3 separate regions of the Homo sapiens genome follow, and regions 1 and 3 are each linked to region 2. Evidence: promoter capture Hi-C in 16 types of primary human blood cells and fetal thymus (Javierre and others, 2016). All regions are on one chromosome and are shown on one strand. Each heading gives the region's core, a stretch centred on a gene start or on the middle of the fragment in contact. The rest is flanking DNA. Distances are from core to core; before and after follow the strand shown. Region 1 has its middle 28 kb from the start of LINC00612. Region 2 holds the start of MFAP5 (microfibril associated protein 5). Region 3 overlaps LINC00612 (long intergenic non-protein coding RNA 612).

Region 1 (3,737 bases), core at 1,223-3,722, 370 kb before region 2:
TTCTAGTATTTCACATACGCAATCTAAGCTGGTTTTCTCATTCTTCTATTCTCAGTAAAAGCATAGAGTAGCCATCAAAAACAACAAATGAGAGAGGACAAAGAGAATAGACGCGGAGGCGAAGAGATAAGCTTTGAAGGTGATAACTAATGTTATATTTAGCAATCGTCTACTTTATACATATGACCAACTTATTGAATGAACAGAATTCATATATTGCAATCAGGAAAGAGCTTTATTCTCCAACCAGAGCCTCCATACCCTTGGACAACTTATCAGACAAATCATTTAGCTCTTCTAATAAATTTAAGCTACTCTAACAGTCTCATTTGACTGAGAAAGTTTAATCCAATCTAAATCAAAATGTTATTCTTATAACCAATTCATTTTTTGTTTCAATTTTTTTTTTTTTTTTGAGACAGAGTCTCACTTTGTTGCCCAGGCTGGAGTGCAGCCCACGATCTCTGCTCACTGCAGCCTCCACCTCCTGGGTGGAGAATCAAGCGATTTTCCTGTCTCAGCCTCCCGAGTAGCTGGGATTACACGTGCCTGCCACCACGCCCGGCTAATTTTTGTTTTCCTCTACATACAGCTCTCACAAACCAGCAGTGGGGGAGTGATGCAGCCCTCCAGCCTCAAAGATGGGGAATTCAAAGAAGAGGGAAAAGTCTTGCTCTGGTACTATTGTTCTCTGGCCATGATTTTGTGTGGAAGTTACCTGGGATGGTTTTTTCATGTGTCAACTTTGCTAGGCAATAGTCCCCTGTTACTCAATCCAACACTAATCTAGATATTTATTGAAGGTATTTTGTAGATTTCGTTAAAGTCCGTAACCAGTTGATTTTAAGTAAGGGAAAGTATCCTAGATAATCTAGGTGAAATTGATTCAATATCAGTTGAAAGGTCTTAAGAGTGGAATTAAGGCTTCCCTGATAAACATGAATTTCTACCTATAGACAGCAGCTTCAGCAGCTTTGGCTTCTGCTAGAGAGTCCCAGCCTGCCCTTCCTGGCAGCCTGCCTTATGGATTTTGGAATTGCCTAGCCATGAGCCAATTCCTTGCAGGGTCTTGCTCAGTTGCCCAGGCTGGAGTGCTGTGGCACAATCACAGCTTATTGCCATCTTGAACTCCTGAGCTCAAGCGAGTCTCCAGCCTCAGCCTCCTGAATAGGTAGGACTATAGGCAAGCACCACCACACCCAGCCAATTTTTTATTTTTTGTAAGGATTGGGGGTTCCCACTGTGCTGCCCAGGCTGGTCTCAAACTCCTGGCCTCAAGCAATCCTCCTGTCTTGGCCTCCCAAAGCACTGGGATTACAAGCATGAGCCACTGCAGTACATCTTTTAACACAGGTATCACTGAATTACAGGGATATGTTCTGATAAACGTAACCCTAAGCAACTTTGTTTTTGTGCAAAGGTCATAGATTGTATTTACACAAACCTAGATGGAAGAGCCTACCACACACCTGGCCTATATGGTGTAGCCAATTGCTCCTAGGCTACAAACCTGGACTGCATGTTACTGTAGGCAATTATAACAAAATGGCACATATTTGTGTATCTAAATGTATCTAAACATAGAAAAGGTACCATCAAAAAACAGTATAAAACATTAAAAATGGTACACCTCGATAGGGCTCTTACCACGAATGGGGTTTGCAGGACTGGAAGTTGCTCTGGGTGAGTCAGTGAGTGGTGAGTGAATGTGAAAGCCTAGGACATTATTGTACATTACTGTAGACTTTATACACACTGTATACTCAAGCTATAGTAAATTCATTTTAAAAAATTTTTTTCATAAAGTTTATTTCATGATTGGTGGGTAGTGCATTTAACAGTTAAATATACTTAAATAATGTGTAGGTGACTGCACGGTTGCAGCATATTGGTAACTAGATACATAACCAATTCAACTAGAAACCAGCTAACGAGTAGCTGTTTAAATATTTAAAATATAGCTCTTGTTTAGAGCCTTTGTTTTGATCACCTTCTTTGTGGGAAGAGCCTGCTGATCACAATGAAAGTATATTAAAGCCAAATCTTCTGATATCCATTGCCATTTCTTTCAGCTGGATTAAGTCTCCAACTCCAGGACAAACCCAAGTCTTTGGCCTCCTCCATTAATGCACTTTTTATCTAGCAGAGCAGAAAGTGCAAGCTTCACAGCAGGCTCAGAGTCTGAGTGTAAATGAAGTCTCTTTCCTTCCACTCCAATTAAACTAGAGTTGTTGACTTTTGCAAACATAGAAGCAGTGAAATGCAACTGATATTTAGTGGCAAGACAAAATGAGTGCAGTTGGCACTTGATGTCCGAGCAAGGTTTACTGAAGTATCAAGATTGTCACATACCCTCTGATAAACTGAGCCTCCAAATTCTGCCCCATTATTGTTATTAGTGTGAAGCTCGAAGTCCCCCATCCGGTAGCCCACTACAGTTATTCCTTGTCAGCTTTGACTTGGCACTGTCAGTGGTCATCTGGTACCCAGCAAGCCAGCCCTCGTAACCAAAGACAGCTGAAGCATAGATTGCAGGTCCAGCAAAATCAAAATTAACATCACAAGCAAGGTTTATGCAGTCCCTCTTGCAAGAGGACTTGATTTTACCACTTTTGTTTCCTGTGATTGCTAAGAAGGTAGTATCAAATATTAGTTTCAAACCTTGACAAAGGTGGTCCAATTGTGATTTCTGTTCCCAGAGTATTAACAGTGTCTCATTTTTCTGGGAAAGTCACACCATACTCACACCGTTTATATTTGGTCTCCAAGACTTCAAAAGCTTTTCCAGTGTCTGCATTAAATGAACCAGATGTTGAAAATCCCACAGCACTGCGTGACTTTGTTCTCACATCCAGTTTTACCAACCCCAAACCAAATCCTTTGTTAAAAATATCTCTGGCAGCTTTGCCAAGGTTAACATATGATGAAGAAATCCACACTGGCCACATGCAGGTCTGCCCATAGGTCGCCATGGTAAGGCCACAGTAAGAGGTGATATGGTGATCTCCTAAGGAGGGCCACGGCCACCACTCCACTCTCAGCTGAGGCTGGTCAGCCGCCTCACAGTCAGGCCACAGCTGCCGTGAAGTGAAATCTCTTTCTTCAATAATAAATTAACCTTAGCTTCTTCTAATTTTTTTACTTAATAAACTTTTTCCTTTTTGTGTTAACTTTTATTTTAGGTTCAGTGGGTACATGTGCAGGTTTGTTACATGGGTAAATTGCATGTCACTGGGTTGGGTGTACAAATGATTTCGTTACCCAGGTATGAGCACAGTACCCAATAGACAGTTTTTCCATCCTCACTCTCTCCCAATCTCCACTCTCAAGTAGCCCTCAGTGTCTTTTGTTCCACTCTGCCTCCCTGCATACTAAATGTTTACCTCCTACTTATAAGTGAGAACATGTGGTATTTGGTTGTCTGTTCCTACATTGGTTCACTTAGGATAATGGCCTCCAGCTCCATCCATGTTGCTGCAAAGAATATGATTTTATTTTTTATGGCTGTGTAGTATTTCATGGTGTAGATGTACCACATTTTCTTTATCCAGTCCACTGTTGATGGGCATCTAGGTTGATTCCATGTCTCTGCCATTGTGAATAGTGCTGCAAGGAACATGCACGTGCATGTGCCTTTTTGGTAGAACAATTTATATTCCTTTGGGTATATACTCAGTGATGAGATTGCTGAGTTGAATGGTAGTTCTGTCTTTTTTTTTTTTTTTTACTTTAAGTTC
Region 2 (3,937 bases), core at 1,161-3,660:
GGTTAGGAGTTCGAGACCAGCCAGGCCAACATGGCGAAACCCCCTCTCTACTAAAAATACAAAAATTAGCCGGGCCTGGTGGCGGATGCCTGTAATCCCAGTTACTAGGGCAGGAAAATCACTTGAACCCAGAAGACGAAGGTTTCAGTGAGCCAAGTTCACGCCACTACACTCCAGCTTGGGCAACAGAGCGAGACTCTATCTCACAAAAAAAAAAAAAAAAAAAAAAAGAAACTAACCAACCTTGAAACAAACTGCATTCTCAAAAGTCTTTAAAACCCAACAATATATGGTTGTCCTGCTCTTCTGCCAGTTCCTGTCTCACTACCTCTCCTTTCCTTCTAGGATGCTACTCCCTGCCTGTTCTCTTCTTCAGCCCTGCTCTGAACATTCTGTTCCTATTTTCACTGCCCCAACTCCAGACTACCTCCTACAACCCCAGGAGAACGCCCCCTCCCACTGCCTGGGGAGGCTCTCCTAAACTATAGCCTCTAGCCAGGCCAGCACATTGAGGTCATTGCTCTCCCTGCCAAATGACTGGCCTGAGTTCAGTGTCTCCATCTGTCTGAGCTTCATGGAAAACTTGATTGTTGCTCTAGGCTCTCTATTCTATGTCCTGCCTTAGCTATGTCCTGCTTTGCATCTGCTTTTTTGTTTCTTCTCCCAACACCCTTTTCTTCCCCTGACTCTCCTCAGACTAGAATCACATCTGTTTTCTAGTCTCAGCCCCTTCACTGGGGAGCAGATGGAAGAAGAGCAAGTTCTGGGGCAGGAAGATCAGGAAGAGCTGGGCGTAGCACTCAGCTTGTTCTGCGGACTGACCAGATTCCATGTATCTTAGAGATGTAGCACTTACAGCTCCCTCGGAGGTCCCAGAGGTGCTTACAAAGTGCGATTTGCTTATTTCTGTGTCCACTGCTCTTTTTTCCTCTCAACTAGACTCCTTCCTTCCTTCTTTCCTTCTTTCCTTCCTTCCATCATACCCCCTTTTATTTTCTTCTAGTATGTAATTTATTAATACTATCTGCTCTCTGTCTACCTGTACTCTTCTCTAATTTATTTCATCAGGGAGATATATAATGTAGACTAAAGGGGAGCCAACAGGAAACCTGAAACTTACATATTTCTATGGCATACAAGGTCCACCATTCCTCAGACTTGAGTTTCTGTAATTCAAGTTTGCTCTTGAATCCAAAGCGGGAATGTTTTAGTGGTTGAACCACTAGAGTCTCTGTGAATAAGAAGAAATACAAAGCCTTTAAAATTCCTGAATCAAGGCTGAGCAACATAGCAAAATCCTGTCTCTACAAAAAAATACATCTAAATTCGCCTGGCATAGTGGCATGCACCTGTAGTCCCAGCGACTTAGGAGGCTGAGGCAGGAGGATCACTTGAGCCCAGGTCAAGCCTGCAGTGAACTGTGATCATGCCACTGTACTCCAGCCTGGGTGACAGAGCAAGACCCTATCTTAAAAAAAAGAAAAAATCCTGGATCAGAGAAAGTGTTATCTACACATTATATGATCTAAGGAAAAATATTGGTAGAAAATGAGGCAAGCATAATAACCTTGCCTTTCAATTTTCTTTGGGCATCTGATTGCATTTTATCCTTAAGAGCCCAGAAACCCAGATTCTTAGTTAAGCTCAAACAAAGCCAAAAGACAAAGTAAGGCTGGCACCCCTTTCACAGAGCTTCTCTACATTTGAAAATGATTTGGAGAGTTCTGAAAAGTTCCTCAACTTTTTATAACCCTAAGGTAGCCAGCCTTCCTCTTGGACAAAACTCATAAGGTATCTGTGTTCGCTTGGTTGTGAGAATACATAGGATATTCCAAGGGGAAAAAAAACAAGAAGAGTCTAAATGTGTAGGTCAAGAAAGAGGCAGAGATGAAAAAGAAATACAGGAATAAAAAGAAATTTGTTAGTGCTGAAGAGACGAATATTGAAAAAGAAAGTGAGAAAGAAGGATGAAGGAATGATTCAAATATGGAATATAAGGAGGCTGAGGCAGGATAATTGCTTGAACTCAGGAGGCGGAGGTTGCAGTGAGCCAAGATCACATCATTGCACTCCAGCCTGGGTGACAGGAGCAAAACTCTGTCTTAAAAAAAAAAAACAAAAAACAAAGAAGAAGAAGATAGCCAGAGAGAGAGAAACAGCATCTATAATGTGCATTAAAACACACCAAGGAGGAGACGGAACTTTTCGGTAAGAAAGAACCCAAGGAACAAAGGGGAGCTGGGACCAGATCGTGAGAGGAGGGAAAATAGGCTAATGGAAGAAAGGCAATACATGAGCTGGGGCCAACACTTCCAGGGAGCAGCAAGAGCTCTCACCAGTGTAGTCATAACATTTGGAATGAGGGTGTGAGCAACTGCAAATTCCCATCTCCCTTCTCATTCCAGCCTCATTGTAACACACATTCTACGCCTAGCCTGGCTTTCTTGCTCTCCCTCATCTCATTGTTTCAGCGGAGGCCAAATCTGAAGTCCTTTCCAGGGAGTGGCTCTGTTCATCTTATTCGCCAGCCAAAGTAGGAACAGCGTAAGAGGAGAGAGACACATTCAGCAGCCAAAGGACTCGGTGGAAAGAGCAGAACACCATAGACAGTGAGTTATTTGATTACCTGAAACCCTAAAGAGACAGAGGGAATGTGTGTATGTCTGTGTGTGTGTGAAAGGGCTGGAGGGGGCAATGGGGAATGTCACTGAACTTAGTCTTGAGCAGACCTCCCAAATAACCGTGGAATTCTGATGAAGGAGACGCCAAGATGAGCAGATGATATGAAAAAGTCACGCATATGAGAAAGGAAGATTCCACATCAGGGGTGAAAGAGGCCAAAGGGTAGGGCCAAGTACGGACCATGTAGAATGTAAAATTTCCTCTGACTTGGTAGCAGAGAATAATAAAAGCAAGAATAATGGTAAGTGACCAAGGAATAGATTTGAGGGAGAAATGAATGTTGGGTGAAAGGTAAGAAAAGAGAGAAAGGGTTTGAGTCATAAGGGAAAATGAAGAAAGTTCTGGGAAGACAAAGAGACAGGGACCTCAGAGGCATCTTTCCCTGGCACTGAAATGCTGATGTGCCTCTGAGCATCACATTCTCTGCTATGCCCACCACCCCTATAGATATGTCGCTCTTGGGACCCAAGGTGCTGCTGTTTCTTGCTGCATTCATCATCACCTCTGGTGAGTCCTTTATTCTTTGCTCCCTAAACCCTCAGCTCCTCAGCTATACACGTGTGTGGCAGGAGATGGGATGGAATGAGGTCGAAGAGGAATAGCAGTAGAGATGCTTGGTATTGAGCTCTGGAATTCCTATTAGAAGAACAGATTTTGTGTTAAGAAAAAAAGTTCAGGAATGTGACTAGACTTCAGACTAGGGGAAAGGCCTCCCAAGAATTATGAAACTAAGGTGCAACTAAGATACACACAAATGCATATTAACCACCCAAAGAGGGTCACATATGAGTAAACAAATTGCAAAGCAAAAAAGAAGCTGATATACAAATGCATACACAAACATAGAGGAGGGACTACCTAGAAAGAAACTGGACCTGGGCTGGGCATGGTGGGCTCACACCTATACTCCTAGCACTTTGGGAGACTGAGTGGAGAGGATCACTGAGACCAACCTGGGCAACATAGTGAGATGAGTTAACCTCATCTCCATTAAAAAAAAAAAGGAAAAAAGAAAAAAAGAAACTGGACCAAATGTAAATCTTGAAGAAGAACAGTGGGAATACATACACTATTACCATCATGCATGCAGGTATACTCACATGCATGCAAAAAATATATGCCATACTGACACACAAGAGAAAAGTGATCTTCACAGATTTCCCAGAATCTGGCTAGAAGACTGGCCACAGAAAGTGAACTTTAGGCTGTAAAGATGTCCTACTCTATTTTTTTCCCTCCTTCTTCCGATACAGAT
Region 3 (3,714 bases), core at 19-2,518, 390 kb before region 2:
TATGTTTATATTAAAACATATATGTTTGTTTATATTACAATGAGCATATGAATATTTATATGTTTATATTAAAACATATATGTTTGTTTATATTAAAATGAGCATATGAATATTTCTGTATACTTCAGATAAACATTCTTTTCCATAAATAAGCTTCATCATCCAGAAGCCATGTTGAAAGTTGGTAATCAAGGATAGGAAGTGTTTCCAAGGGTTGTCAGTGATTAAATCAACCTTACCTTAGCATACATGTATGAGAGAAGTTAGATAAATTATACATAGAGAGATAGCTAGATAGATAATAGATAAATAAGGTAGATGACAGATTAGATACAGATGATAAACAGATATGCTATCAGTCTAGATCTATTACTCACAGTCAGTCGTATCACAGTGTAATTCCATCAACTTCATTTGCAGCAAAAGAACAGCCCCTGATGTACGCCTGTTTCCTGAATATTTGGAAATATTAATATTAATATAGATAGAGTCAGCTTGCCAGTATAAAGAATCTATCTCTCACTATAGGCAGAGCCATGTGTTGGATATTATGGAGGAATATGTATTATTTTAATCGTTTAAAAGACTAATAAACTTCTAATCTACTTTTGGGAGCCTCTGCTCAAGTTCCTGAGGTTCCTACTCTAAAATCCACATCACCCTCCAACTGCTCCCTATGTGAGCCATTAGGGAGCACAATGAATTAGAGAATGAATCCTATTAGCCCACTAAAAAATTATCTTTCAAAGGATGAAGACTGATGCTAAGGAAAAAGAGATGAGGCCTCCCTGGTTCCGCATTATTACTCCTTCCTTTCTTGGGTTACGGATTGAACACTGACCTTTTCTTTCACTCTTCTGCAAGACAACCCCATAAGAAAGCTGAAACCTGCTTTTGTGAAAGCCTATGATTACTATAAGACAGGTGAGCAAAACAGAATCCTAGATAAACTCAGTTCTTTCCAGTGTGGTGTCTTTGATGGAAAAATAAAATAAAAGCCAATGTGTTTGGGGTTTTTTTCTTTTTTACTTTATATAGATTTAGGGGGTACAAGTATGGTTTTGTTACATGGCTACATTGCACAGTGGTGAAGTCTGGGCTTTGAGTGTAGCCATCACCCAATTAGAGTACATTGTACCCATTAAGTGATTTCCCATCCCTCTTGCCCTGTCACCCTCCCACCCTTCTGAGTCTCCAGTATCTGTTATCCCACTCTCTATGTCCATGTGTACAAATTATTTAGCTCCCACTTATAAGTGAGAATGTGAAGTATTTGACCTCCTGTTTCTGAGTTATTTCACTTGAGATAGTAGCAACAAGGGTGGAAGTGGAGGCCAAACCTCAATTCTTAAAGCAATAAAAGTGTGGTAAACCCTTGTACATCTTGTTTTCAGTTTAATCTGTCTCCATAACTTATTTTTTCTTCCTTGGCCTACAAAACTACTGCCAAAACTACCTGTAATATACATGTATATTGATATGTAAGCCTATCAGTCGTGCAAAATAATCCAAAGTACCAAGAGTTTTACGTAGAAGTGCTTATAAATAAAGGCATACATAAATCTTAAAAAGATAATATAGCAATGCAAAGAAATAAAGAAGAGCCTAAGAACTATACAAATAATTATAGTAGGAACTAAGAGAGGGGTGAGAACTATAGCGTTGAGTGGTCTTTAAACAGCAAATGAAGAGGCTGGGCACAGTGGCTTATGCCTATAATCCCAGCAGTTTGGGAGGCCATGGCAGAATGATCTCTTAAAGCTAGAAGTTTGAGACCAGCCTGGGCAACTAAGTGAGAGCCCATCTCTACAAAAAATTGAAAAATAAAATCAGCCAGCATGCTGGTACACACCTGTAGTAGTCCCAGCTACTCAGGAGGCTGAGGCAGGACGATCATTGGAACCCAGGAGTTTGAGGCTGCAGTGAGTGAAAGAGTGAGACCCCATCCCTAAAATACACACACACACACACACACACACCCCCCAAGTAAAATTTCAGCTGGAATATAAATCGTGGGTATTATACTGATTTATGGAGAGAATTATGCTAAGTCTTTCAGATGAGGAAAACATATAAGAAATATCATGCAAGAAAAAAGAAGCAAATATGGAACAAGAACTGAAAGAACACATACCCGCGTGATCCCCCCTAGTACTTTGCTTGAACACTGTAGCATGAGCAGGCTTTGATTTTCCACCAGAGTAACGGATTATACTAATGGTATCAAGAGTGGAAATTCCTTGACCATGTCTATATATTTCCCCAGTGAGCTGACATTTTTGTGATCACGCAGGCCCTGATTCAGTATGGTTTGCAGTCCTTAAATAGGTCAAAGCCTCTCCACATAGCCCTGTCCCGTTGAAGCTCCCATTCTCAAGCTTTTCTCCCATTGTGTGTTTCAGATGAAGCAAATTTGCTGAATACAGTGTCCCCTGCAGCCGATAGGCAGTTTGCTCTACATATCCCAAGCCTTCATTTTGCTCTCAAAAGCAGTCCTCCTAAATACAAAATCATCTACATCTTTTATTAGTTGATATCAGATTTATCATACTGCAAGGTAACGCAGAACTATACAGCTTTGGAGAGGAACACTAACTTCCTGGAAGGTTTCCTGATTTTCTTATCAGAAGAGTGTAAATGAAATTACCCTGTGATTAGGGTAGATATCTGATGGATTCCATTCTCAGCCATAACCAGTTTGGTCTCCTTTAGCAAAGCCCTGCTGCTGTCCATATCCAATTAGAATTAAATTCACTCCTTGGCAAGCCCGAAGTCATCCTGTTCGCTTTCCTCTTCTCTCCACAGGCACAGAGCAAGAAAATGTTTGAGGCTTGTGTCTATAAACAAGACTTGGCTGGAATCCCCAGACCCACGACTTTTTAAAAGGATATTTTGTCCCTGCAATACAGATACTGAATGAGGTTGGCAAATAAATATGTATTTCTAGAGACTCTATAATTGATTCCTTCTTCATTTAATGCAAATTTACTCCATGCGCACTTACTGCTTTTCATTGTACCCTGTATTTGCAATAAACAAATAATGGCATCCAAATTGAGGTAAGAGCACCTAGCATAAATTTAGGAACAATTCACAACAGCCTCACTACTGCAGAACCTCAGAATATGCAAAGCAATGTAATGGCAATCTGGGAAAGTTTCACTCCAAGAAAAAACTTCTAAACTGAAGATTAGTGACAAGAGTGTAGAGTATATCTGAGTGGAAACATTTTTTGCAAAAGCAGAAGAAATGGTTTATTTTAGCACCAGGTAAAATGACTGGCCTGTCTAGATAGAAGCTCCGTATTGCAGAAAGGTGAAAATTTATCAATCAATCAATTAATTAATAAGTTATGTTTAGGTGGGAGTCATAATATTACGACAATTTCATGGAATTAGAAATGCTTAACTTCTGGTCCAAAATCTGCCACTGACCATTTGTATGACTTTGGGTTGAAAAACATCTGGATATCAGTTTTATGTGTGTGACAGAATCACGTGTTATTGGAGAAGTATAAATAAGTACAGGTGGCGTATCCCTTATCCAAAATACTTGGGACCAGAAGTGTTTTGAATTTTGAATTTTTTAGATTTGAAATATTTGAAGTATGCTTACCAGTTGAGTATCCCTAATCCAAAAACTGGAAACCCAGAATGTTCCAGTGAGTATTTCCTCCTAGCATCACTTCAGCACTTGAAAAGTTTCAGATTTTGG

The links. The method cuts DNA at HindIII sites, captures the fragments that hold promoters and counts their contacts. A CHiCAGO score of 5 or more calls a contact.
Region 1: a fragment that was not itself captured here is called in contact with the fragment with the promoter of MFAP5 in region 2 in 7 of 17 cell types (M2 macrophages, M0 macrophages, erythroblasts and 4 more); the score reaches 13.5 in M2 macrophages.
Region 3: a fragment that was not itself captured here is called in contact with the fragment with the promoter of MFAP5 in region 2 in 4 of 17 cell types (naive CD8 T cells, M2 macrophages, erythroblasts and 1 more); the score reaches 11.9 in naive CD8 T cells.

The regions. Positions count from the first base shown.
Region 1 is chr12:9,035,582-9,039,318 of GRCh38, reverse strand. It overlaps a transcript of KLRG1 not described here and the pseudogene VDAC2P2. Among named protein-coding and RNA genes, the nearest start is that of LINC00612, 28 kb to the left of the region's middle. The HindIII fragment of the contact is 618 bases long and covers 2,164-2,781 here.
Region 2 is chr12:8,661,299-8,665,235 of GRCh38, reverse strand. It overlaps MFAP5 (microfibril associated protein 5), which reads left to right and starts at 2,410. Exons shown (of 10, transcript NM_003480.4): 1 at 2,410-2,609; 2 at 3,130-3,189. The coding sequence starts at 3,132. The HindIII fragment of the contact is 12,173 bases long and covers 1-3,937 here.
Region 3 is chr12:9,054,830-9,058,543 of GRCh38, reverse strand. LINC00612 (long intergenic non-protein coding RNA 612) reads left to right here. Exons shown (of 3, transcript NR_034140.1): 2 at 1-924; 3 at 2,806-2,955. It also overlaps a transcript of KLRG1 not described here. Among named protein-coding and RNA genes, the nearest start is that of LINC00612, 8.4 kb to the left of the region's middle. The HindIII fragment of the contact is 2,225 bases long and covers 156-2,380 here.